Regions from separate parts of the Homo sapiens genome. Here region 1 is linked to region 2. Evidence: promoter capture Hi-C in human tissues and cell types (Jung and others, 2019). All regions are on one chromosome and are shown on one strand. The core of a region is centred on a gene start or on the middle of the fragment in contact, and the rest is flanking DNA. Distances in the headings are between cores, read along the strand shown.

Region 1 (5,451 bases), core at 771-3,270, 260 kb after region 2:
TCAATGCATAAACCCATTCTGATATTCCTGGTACGAGACTGAGGCCCTTCTTTGAACAATTCTGTAACATTAGACATCACTACCTTTCTTTATTGGAACAGGAATCTACTGCCCTGTTAGGGCCATCTGTGTCCAGCTTCTAGATCTGATTTCCAGAATTCTCCATTCTTTTTTATTTTAACTTTTTTTTTTTTGTAGCAATGGGGTCTTCCTATGTTGTCCAGACTGATCTCAAACTCCTGGGCTCAAGCCCTCCTCCTGCCACAGCCTCCCAAAGTGTTAGGATTACAGGCATGAGCCACCACACTTGCCTGAATTCTTCATTCTTAAGAAACAGCTTCCAGCATAACCCACAGGAACTGCAGGGTTCTGCCCCATGGGCCCTCCTGAGGAAGCTTGGGGACTGACGGCTTCTGCTGAGCCTCAGAAGAAGGAAGGAACCCAGCATCCTTGAGAATCCGTTTTTAGGCCGAGGTGGGTGGATCACTCAATGCCAGGAGTTCGAGACCAGCCTAGCCAACATGGTGAAACCCCGTCTCTACTAAAAATATACAATTTAGCTGGGTGTGATGGCACATGCCTGTAATCCCAGGTACTCTCAGGAGGCTGAGGCATGAGAATTTCTTGAACCCGGGAGGCAGAGGGTGCAGTGAGCTCAGATCATGCCACTGCACTCCAGCCTGGGCAACAGAGGGAGACCCTGTCTCAAAAAAAAGGGGAAGTCAATTTTTTTTAGAAATTCCTGTTGAAGTCCAATAACTCAGGGACCAGAGGCCTTTGAGACAGTGAGCTCTGTCCTCTGTGAAACCATAGCTTGTTATACAACAGGCTGTAATTAATATCTCCAGGAGTCTGAAAGACACCCCATCACTAATAAAAAATGAAAGCCGTCTGGGCCCAGTGCCCAGAGCCTGCAGACTCCTGCCAGGCCGGGATCCTCCAGCAGAGAGCGCTCACAGGGACAAGACACGTCAACCATGCCCCTACAGTCCCAGCCTCCAAATTGCAGAACACAGCTCTGTCCCACCTGGTTTTGCTCAGCCAGAGCAGGGCAGGCACCAGAAGACCTGCTTCTTCAGGGTGTGAGCCACTCAGAGGACAGACCTGGGCGTGTTGGGGTCAGGTGGGGGAGAGGGAGAATGGGGCACCTGCTTCAGGAGTGAATTTCCTTTGATTCCCAACTTGCACATCTGTTTGTTGCCCATTTTGCAAGGATTGGGCTTCCACTCTGGTGTAGGGCACATGGGTTCAGCCAGAACTTTCCTGCACACTGCTGCTAGATTCACTTGCTGAAAACACCTCTCAAATCGCACCACTCTTTTACTCAAGAACCTGTAACGACCCCATGTCCATGGTATCAGGTGGACTTTTCTGACTGGTGTCAAGGCCTTTGGTAATTTGCCTTCTCTGTTCCAATCTGCATCGTCTCTACATAGGCAGGCTGGTCTCCCTCTCTGGCTGCCCCAAACTGCCACCCAGTTTCTATTCCATAAAATGGCACCAGTAGTGCCCACCTCCTAGAGTTACCGTCGTGTGGCTTAAACAAGAGAACACATGTGAACCACACGCCTGGCATATAATAGGCACTTATAGTATGTTAAATGTTTGTGATGTCGCTGCTGCTACTGAACTCATTCCTTCCTTTGTAACTTCCCCCTTCCCTTCTCCCAGCCAAAACGTTTCTGCCCTTTACAGCTCAGCTCAAAGCTCCTCTTCTTCTTGGAAGTCATCCAGGATCATCATGTAACTGTGTTTCCAAACCTGGGGCACTTCGGAATCACCTGGGGTTTTTTTTTAATGTCTTTTTTTTTTTTTTTTTGCTTGGTTAAACATTATTTTAGTGGTAACAATGCTTTTATTACTTTTTTACCATTGTAATCATTTTTAATGTAAAATTTACCATCTAAACAATTTTTTTTTTTTTTTGCAGACGGAGTTTCTCTCCTGTCACCCAGGCTGGAATGCAATGGCATGGTGTCGGCTCACTGCAACCTTTACCTCCCGGGTTCAAGTGATTCTCCTGCCTCAGCCTCCTGAGTAGCTGGGATTACAGGCACCCACCATCATGCCTGACTAATTTTTGTATTTTTAGTAGAGACGGGGTTTCGCCATGTTGGCCACGCTGGTCTCGAACTCCTGACCTCAGGTGATACATCTGCCTTGGCCTCCCAAAGTGCTGGGATTACAGGTGTGAGCCACCACGCCCGGCCTCTCATAGAGGTTTTGATTTTCACTTGCTGGATGATTAGTGATGTAAGCACCTTTTTATATACCTGTTGGCCATTTTTATGTCTTTCTTGAGGAAATGTCTGTTCAAGTGCTTTGGCAAATCGAGTTACTTGCTTTTCTGTCACTGAGTTGTAAGAGTTTGTTGTTGTTGTTGTTGTTTTGTTTTGTTTTGAGACAGAGTCTCGCTCTGTCACCCAGCCTGGAGTGCAGTGGCGCAATCTTGGCTCACTGCAACCTCCGCCTCCTGGGTTCAAATGATTCTCCTGCCTCAGCCCTCCGAGTAGCTGGGATTACAAGAGCCCGCCACCACACCCGGCTAATTTTTCTATTTTTAGTAGAGGTGGGGTTTCACAAAGATTGGCCAGACTGGTCTCAAACTCCTGACCTCAGGTGATCCACTCGTCTCGACCTCCCAAAGTGCTGGGATTACAGGCGTGAGCCACCGTGCCCAGTCATTTTTTTTTTCTTTTTGAGATGGAGTTTTTGCTCTCTCGCCCAGGCTGGAGTACAGTGGTGCGATCTTGGCTCACTGCAACCTCTGCCTGCTGGGTTCGAGGGATTCTCCTGCCTCAGCCTTCCGAGTAGCTGGGATTACAGGTGCCCGCCACCATGCCTGGCTAATTTTTGTATTTTTTGTAGAGACCTAGTTTTACCCTGTTGGCCAGGCTTGTCTCAAACTCCTGAAGTGCTGGGATTACAGGAGTGAGCCACTGTGCCAGGCCGAGTTGTAACAGTTCTTTATATATTTTGAATACTAATTCCATTATCAGATACATGGTTTGCAAAGATTTTTCTCAGTCCATAGACTGCTTCCCATTTTGTCTTCTTTGCTGTGCAAAAGGTTTTTTCTTTAATCTAGTTCCATTATTTATTTTTGCTTTTATAGCTTGACCTCTTGGTATTATATTAAAAAATAATTGCCAAGACCAATGTCAAGGAGCTTTTCCCCTGTGTTCTTATCTAGGAGATTTATGGTTTCAAGTTTTACATTTAGGTCTTTCATCCATTTCGATTTGATTGTTATGTATGGTGTATGATAAGGATCCGATTTTGTTCTTCTGCATATGAAAATAGTTTTCCCAGCACCATTTATTGTCTTCATTTCTGATTTTATTTTATTTATTTTGTTTTATTTTTTGAGATAGGGTCTCACTCTATTGCTCAGGCTGGAGTGCAGTGGCGATATCATGGCGCACTGCAGCCTCAACCTCCTGGGCTCAAGGGATCCTCCTGCCTCAGCCTCCTGATGAGATGAGACTCTATCTATTAGATTAGATAGAGACAGGGTCTCGCCATGTTGCTCAGACTGGTCTCAAACTCCTGGGCTCAAGCAATCCTCCCACCTCAGCCTCCCAAAGTGCTGAGATTGCACCTAAGCCATTTCTGATTTTAGTTGCTTGAATCTTCTCTCTTTTTTCTTCGTTAATCTAGCTAAGTGTTTGTCAATTTTGTTGATCTTTTCAACAAATCAACTCTTAGTTTAACTGATTTTTTTCTATTGTTTTTCTGTTCTCTATTCCCTTGATCTCTGTTCTGATCTTTATTTCATTCCTTTTGCTAGCTTTGTGTTTACTTTGTTCTTCTTTTTGTAGTTCCTTGAGGTGTAGAATTAGGTTGTTGGTTTGTGATCCTTCTCCTTCTTTTAAAAAATGTAGACACATTTTTTACATACATGTCTTTCATTTTCTTTCTTTTAAACAGAGACAGGGTTTTGCCATGTTGTCCAGACTCTGGTCTCAAACTCCTGGGCTCAGGTAATTCTTCTGCCTCGTCCTCTCAAAGTGCTGGAATTAAAGGCATAAACCACCATGCCTGGCTCTTTCTTCTTCTATTATTTATTTATTTATTTTAAGACAGGGTCTCACTCTGTCACCCAGGCTGAGTGCAGTGGTGCAATCATGGCTCACTGCAACCTCAGCTTCCCAGGACCAAGCGATTCTCCTGCCTCAGCCTCCCAAGTAGCTGGAACTACAGGCCTGCTTCACTGTGCCCATATTTTTTTTTTTTTTTTAGTGGAGATGAGGTCTCACTATGTTGCCCAGGCTGGTCTTGAACTCCTGGCCTCAAGCAATCCTCCCACCTCAGCCTACCAAAGTGCTGGGATTACAGGTGTGAGCCACCTCGCCCAACCTCTCCTCCTCCTTCTCCTTCTCCTCCTCCTTCTCCTTCTCCTCCTCCTCCTTCCCCTCCTCCTCCCCTCCTTCTCCTCCTCCTCCTCCTCTTCTTCTTCCCTCTTCTTCTTTCTTCCTCTTCCTCTCCTCCTTCTCCTCCCCCTCCCCTTCCTTCCCCTTTCCCTTCTCCTTCCCCCCTCCCCCTCCTCCCTCCTCCTCCTCCTTCTTCTCTCTTCCTCTCCCTCTTCTTTCTTCATCATCATCATCACCTTCTTCTTCTTCTTCTTTTTTTCTGTTGCAACAGTCTCGATCCATCGCCCAGCCTGGAGTGCAATGGCACAATCTCTCAGCTCATTGCAGCCTCTCCCTCCTGGGTTCAGGCGATTTTTGTGCCTCAGCCTCCCGAGTAACTGGGATTACAGATGTGCACCACCATACTAATTCTTGTATTTTTAGTAGAAATGGAGTTTCACCATGTTGGCCAAGCTGGTCTCGAACTCCTGGCTTCAAGTGATCCACCCACCTTGGCTTCCCAAAGTGCTGGGATTACAGGCATGAGCCACCACGCCGGCTGCTTTCTTCTTCTTCTTTTTCTTTTTTTCTTTCTTTCTTTTTTTTTTTTTTTTTGAGACAGAGTCTTGCTCTGTCACCCAGGCTGGAGTGCAATGGTGAGATCTTGGCTCACTGCAACCTCTGCCTCCTTCTCCTGGGTTCAAGCAATTCTCCCTGCCTCAGCCTCCTGAGTAGCTGGGATTATAGGCTCCCGTCACCATGTCCAGCTAATTTTTGTATTTTCAGTAGCGATGGGGTTTCGCCATGTTGGCCAGGCTGGTCTCAAACTCCTGACCTCAGGTGATCTATCCCTCTTGGCCTCCCACAGTGCTGGGATTACAGGCATGAGTCACCTTGCCCAGCCTCTTCTTTTTTAATGTAAGCATTTACAGCTATAAATTTCCCTTATCCCATAAGTTTTGGTATGTTGTGTTTTGTTTTCATTTGTCTCAAGATATTTTCTAATTTCCCTTGTGATTTCTTATCTGACCCTTTGGTTATTTAAAAGTGTGTTGTTTTATTCCCACCAATTTATGGATTTTTCCAATTTTTCTTCTGC
Region 2 (5,504 bases), core at 2,320-4,819:
TACCGAGACCATCCTGGCCAACATGGTGAAACCCTGTGTCTACTAAAAATACAAAAATTAGCTGGGCGTGGTGGTGGGCACACACCTGTAGTCCCAGCTACTTGGGAGGCTGAGGCAGGAGAATCACTTGAACCTGGGAGGTGGAGGTTGTGGTGAACTGAGGTGGTGCCACTGCATTCCAGCCTGGTGACAGAGCAAGACTCCATCTCAAAAAAAAAAAAAAAAAGGGAAAAAAAGAAAATTACAATAAAGTCCGGGCACGGTGGCTCACGCCTGTAATCCCAGCACTCTGGGGGGCCAAGGTGGGTGGATCACGAGGTCAGGAGTTCGAGACCAGCCTGGCCAATATGGTGAAACCCTGTCTCTACTAAAAATACAAAAAAATTAGCCAGGTGTGGTAGTGGGCGTCTGTAATCTCAGCTACTCGGGAGGCTAAGGCAGGAGAATCGCTTGAATCTGGGAGGCAGAGGTTGCAGTGAGCTAAGATCGCACCACTGCACTCCAGCCTGGTGACAGAGTGAGACTCTGTCTCAAAAAAATAAATAAAATAAAAAATAAAAGTATATCAGCAGCTCGGTTTTATCACTGTACCAAGAGTTGATCAGGTACAGGAGGGACAATATGCTAACCAGATTCACCGAGGACTACCAAATGATTCAGACTGCCCATTTAATAATCTACCATGAGAGGCCGGGCGTGGTGGCTCAGCACTTTGGGAGGCTGAGGGAGGCGGATCAAGAGATCAGGAGATCGAGACCATCCTGGCCGACATGGTGAAACCCCGTCTCTACTAAAAAAAAATACAAAAATTAGCTGGGCGTGGTGGTGCACTCCTGTAATCCCAGCTACTCAGGAGGCTGAGGCATGAGAATCAGGTGAACCTGGGAGGCAGAGGTTGCAGTAAGCCAAGATCATACCACTGTACTCCAGCCTGGTGACAGAGTGAGACTCCATCTCACAAATAAAAATAATTTACAATGAGAAATATGCCAAATGGCACAAAAGGTTCTTGCTGGCTGGTCAGTGTACAAAATGAATCAGGAAGCAAAATGAAAACCAAAGGTTGTTCCATGAAGGGTTCAGAGCCAAGTGAAGTGACTGAGAGATCTAGATCACAGCTGGTCACCAGGCACAAAGCTGACTCTCATGTCTTCACTATAAAGAGATACTTATGGCTGGGTGCAGTGGCGCACGCCTGTAATCCTAGCACTTTGGGAGGCCAAGACAGGCGATCACCTGAGGTTGGGAGTTCGAGACAAGCCTGACCAACATGGAGAAACCCCGTCTCTACTAAAAATACAAAACTAGCTGGGTGTGGTGGCACATGCCTGTAATCCGAGCTATTCAGGAGGCTGAGGCAGGAGAACTGCTTGAACTCAGGAGGCGGAGGTTGCGGTGAGCTGAGATCATGCCATTGCACTCCAGCCTGGGCAACAGGAGTGAAACTCTGTCTCAAAAAAAAAGAAGACAGATACTTATTACCATGCAGTCCAGGTATTCGCCTTGGCTTGTAAGAGGCAAACAAGGTCTATTTAGTACAGGAGACATAATGACAGCTTCTTGCTTTTTGCCTAAGCTTTTACTAACAGAAGACTAACTCTTTCTCGGACAGAAAGAGCCTGCTATTAAGAGAAAAATGATCGGCCGGGCACGGTGGGTCACGCCTGTAATCCCAGCACTTTGAGAGGCCGAGGTGGGCGAATCACGAGGTCAGGAGATCCAGACCATCCTGGCTAACAGGGTGAAACCCCGTCTCTACCAAAAATACAAAAAAATTAGCCGGGTGTGGTGGCGGGTGCCTGTAGTCCCAGCTGCTGGGGAGGCTAAGGTAGAAGAATGGCGTGAACCCAGGAGGCGGAGCTTGCAGTGAGCCAAGATCATGCCACTGCACTCCAGCCTAGGCGACACAGCGAGACTCTGTCTCAAAAAAAAAGAGAAAAATGATCAGGTTGGGATGGGCCTATACCCTAGTTATTTTTTTTTATTTTTATTTTTTGAGACAGAGTCTCACTCTGTTGCCCAGGCTGGACTGCAGTGGCACAATCTCCGCTCACTGCAACCTCCAGCTCCCAGGTTTAACCATGTCTGGCTAATTTTTGTATTTTTAGTAGAGATGGGGTTTTGCCATGTTGGCCATGCTGGTCTTGAACTCCTGGCCTCAAATGATCCGCCTGCTTCAGCCTCCCAAAGTGCTGAGATTACAGGCATGAGCCACCGCGCCTGGCCTTGAATATTTCTACAATGATGGAATGTACCTGTTAATACAGTGTGTCTTATCAAACACATGCTGCCAAGGAGAGCACTGGGTATTCTTCCAGTGTAAAGTAGATTCCTAGGCAGTCTAGGGAGTCAGGAAAGGCTTCCCTGAGGATGAGATGGAAGAGGGACTGAGGGCCCAAAGTGGCTGAAAGACAGAGAGCCAATAGGAGGAAGTCCAGTTACAGAGGGCCAGGATTTGGGTTTTTAACCATTTAATGGTTATAAACTGAGACTAACATACTCAGATTTAGACTTTACAAAGATCAGCAAGTATAATGGATTGGAAGGATCAAGAATTAATCCCAGCCTGACCAACACAACCTCCACTTCCTCCTCCCAGCAGTTTGGAATCCTTACCTTTTGCAATAGTATACGTTCATTCATTTATTATGCATTCGATAATATTTACTGAGAGCCTACTATGTGCCAAACATTATCCTAGAGGTTAAGAGGGGACAAGAGCAAAGGGTCAGCAGTCTAGGGGTGAGATGGAGTCAAAAGGACGGCAGGTCAGCTGGAATGATGAGAACAGCAGTGGAGAGCCTTTAAAAGTGCCTTGGACTGGACCGATTACCTTCTAAATGCCGGCGCCCGGAAAAATCACTAACACCCTTTGGACTTACGTATTTCCATCTTTGTAAAATGGGAACCTACCTCGCAAGGGATGTTGCAACAATCGAAGAAAACTATGCACAATGCTTGACATCCAGTGGGTCCTCAGTAAATAGCCTAAGAAGGAAGCAAGGTTATGGTTACTTCTGGAAGAGGTGGCTTGGGGGCTGCGACAGGTGCAGCGATTGCCTGATGATAACATCTAGAAAAGCCCTTGCTGGGCAGAGGGGCAGCCGACGACCCCCGCCACTCAGCGAGTCTCCAGGTTTCCCGGAAACGCTAGCTCCAGTGACTTCTCAGATGCCCCTATGGGACCCCACCCAGGGCTGCCGCCGCCACCACCTACTGCAGCCGAAGCGGATGCACCTCGCGACTTTCCCCGCAGCCGCTGCCGGGGCCACAGCGAGGTCATGACGCCCGTGACGCATACGCAGCCAGCACGCACGCGCGCGGCGTGGCCCGCCCCCCCCTCCCACCCCGGAGGCGGGGCCGTGAGTCCCGGGCTCCGCCCCGGAGCGTCGGGCCCCTCCCCGGGCCCCGCCTCCAGCTCGCCTAGGACCGCTTGGAGCCGGCAGCTCGCCTGCCAAACCCGGCTGGGAACGCCTGGCAGCTTTTAGGAGGGGGCGGGCCCGGGGGTGGTGGCCCCAGGAGCGGTTGCCGCGGGGACCGGGCAGTGACGCGGCCCAAGGGCGGAAGTGAGAAAGTTGTCTGCGTCTCGAGGCGAGTTGGCGGAGCTGTGCGCGCGGCGGGGCGATGGGGGGCTCGGGCAGTCGCCTGTCCAAGGAGCTGCTGGCCGAGTACCAGGTGCGCGGGACGCCTGGCCCTGGGGAGCTCGCGTGCGGGCCTCTTCTCGGGAGCAGGGTCCGGGAGCTGGCTGCGGGGCGGCCGCGGCCTCCCAGCGGTCCGCTAATCCCCGCTCTGGCTTTGCCTTCCAGGACTTGACGTTCCTGACGAAGCAGGAGATCCTCCTGTAAGTGCTGCCTTGAACCCTGCCTCCGACCCCGGGATCCTCTAGAGACAGCTTCGGGGGCGCTGTCCCGAGGGAGGGGCGGGGGCTGGCCTGAGGTCTGCAGAGGAGCGGGAGCTGGAGGCCGGGAGACCTAGCCCGGGCTGCGCCCTCCTCCCGGCACGCCCTCCCCGCCCTCGCCTGAGGCCCCAGCGTGGCACCGCGGAGCCACCTTACAGCCTCCAGGAAAAGTTAGGCGCTCTTTGACCCTGGGCTCCACTAGCTTCAGCACTGCCGAACTTCCTGCCCCAGTCCGGCAGGGGCCGACCTTGCCCAGTGGCTAAACCACAGAAGCCTTGGGGAGCCCGGCTCCTTCTCCCAACTTTACCTGAATAATACAGTAACCGTTATCGCTTTCTGAGCACTCACCATGTGCCAGGGACTGTGCTAAATGGTTGCCTGCGTTACCTAATTTAATCTTTAGGAGAGAGGTACTGGACAATGAAACAGGTTCAGAAAGGTTTGGTAACTGCTTAAGACAACACTCTGAGTAAGTAGATTTGAACTTGGGCTGGAAGCCCTTTTGCCGGATTTATGCAGGCCAGGTTCCTGTGGCAAAGATAAGCTCATGGGAAGGAGGTGGAGGCCGAGGAGGACAGTTCAGTGTGGTTGCTAAAAAGGAGGCTTTGAGGGTAAGAGATCCCTGGAGTGAAGGTGAGAATGAGATTTTTGGTTTTGCTCTTTTCTCCGTTTTTTTTTTTTTGAGACAGCGTCTCGCTCTGTCGCCCAGGCTGGAGTGCTGGGGCACGATCTTGGCTCACTGCAGGCTCTGCCTCCGGGTTCAAGTGATTCTCCTGCCTCCGGGTTCAAGTGATTCTCCTGCCTCAGCCTCCTGAGTAGCTGGGATTATAGGCACCCGCCACCATGCCCGGCTAATTTTTGTATTTTTAGTAGAGAAGGGGTTCACCATGTTGCTCAGACTGGTCTCAGACGCCTGACCTCCAAAGCTCCGCCCGCCTTGGCCTCCCAAAGTGCTGGGATTACAGGTGTGAGCCACCGTGCCTGGCCAATTCTTTAGGGCCAACTTCTGGCTCCTTTCCCAACTTCTTCATCCCTTGGGGATCTCTAGAATCAGTGCCAAGCACATAGTAAATGCTCAGTAAATACTCATTGCAAGAATAGACTCCTAGGCTGTACTGCCTTGTGACATGTCCTTTTGCTTACCGTTGCCTGATGACTCGGAAGTTCTGTGTACGTGGTTTTAGCTCCTCACCTGGTTGACAATGAGCAGCAGGCAAGGAGTGGGAATGAACACACAGGGAGACCGATCGCTGAGAACACCGACAGTTCCCCTCTCTCTACCAGAGCCCACAGGCGGTTTTGTGAGCTGCTTCCCCAGGAGCAGCGGAGCGTGGAGTCGTCACTTCGGGCACAAGTGCCCTTCGAGCAGATTCTCAGCCTTCCAGAGCTCAAGGTGCAAGCGCTCCCCTCCTTTGACACCTCTCCCACCACTCCCTCCCTGCTAGACCCCCTAACTCCATCTGCCACTAGCTTTGGGATCATGGGGTCACTGGTCCCCACTCTGGTCATTTTTCTGCTTAGTTCTGATTTTCTAGGGGCAAGGACTTTACCAAAATCACCTGGCAGAATTATCTAGAATGGTGCTTTTCAAATGGGGATTCTAGAA

What was found. Contacts are between HindIII fragments. The study calls those that stand out against the background at their distance.
Region 1: a contact is called between a fragment that was not itself captured here and the fragment with the promoter of CIB1 in region 2, in 1 of the 25 tissues and cell types used here (pancreas).

The regions. Positions count from the first base shown.
Region 1 is chr15:89,967,229-89,972,679 of GRCh38, reverse strand. No RefSeq gene overlaps it. Among named protein-coding and RNA genes, the nearest start is that of ZNF710, 31 kb to the left of the region's middle. The HindIII fragment of the contact is 6,489 bases long and covers 1-5,264 here.
Region 2 is chr15:90,232,006-90,237,509 of GRCh38, reverse strand. It overlaps CIB1 (calcium and integrin binding 1), which reads left to right and starts at 3,569. Exons shown (of 7, transcript NM_006384.4): 1 at 3,569-3,675; 2 at 3,807-3,841; 3 at 5,183-5,291. The coding sequence starts at 3,625. GDPGP1 (GDP-D-glucose phosphorylase 1) reads right to left here and starts at 3,301. Exons shown (of 4, transcript NM_001013657.3): 1 at 3,218-3,301; 2 at 2,914-2,988. RefSeq lists silencers at 3,167-3,606, 3,627-4,076. The HindIII fragment of the contact is 18,702 bases long and covers 162-5,504 here.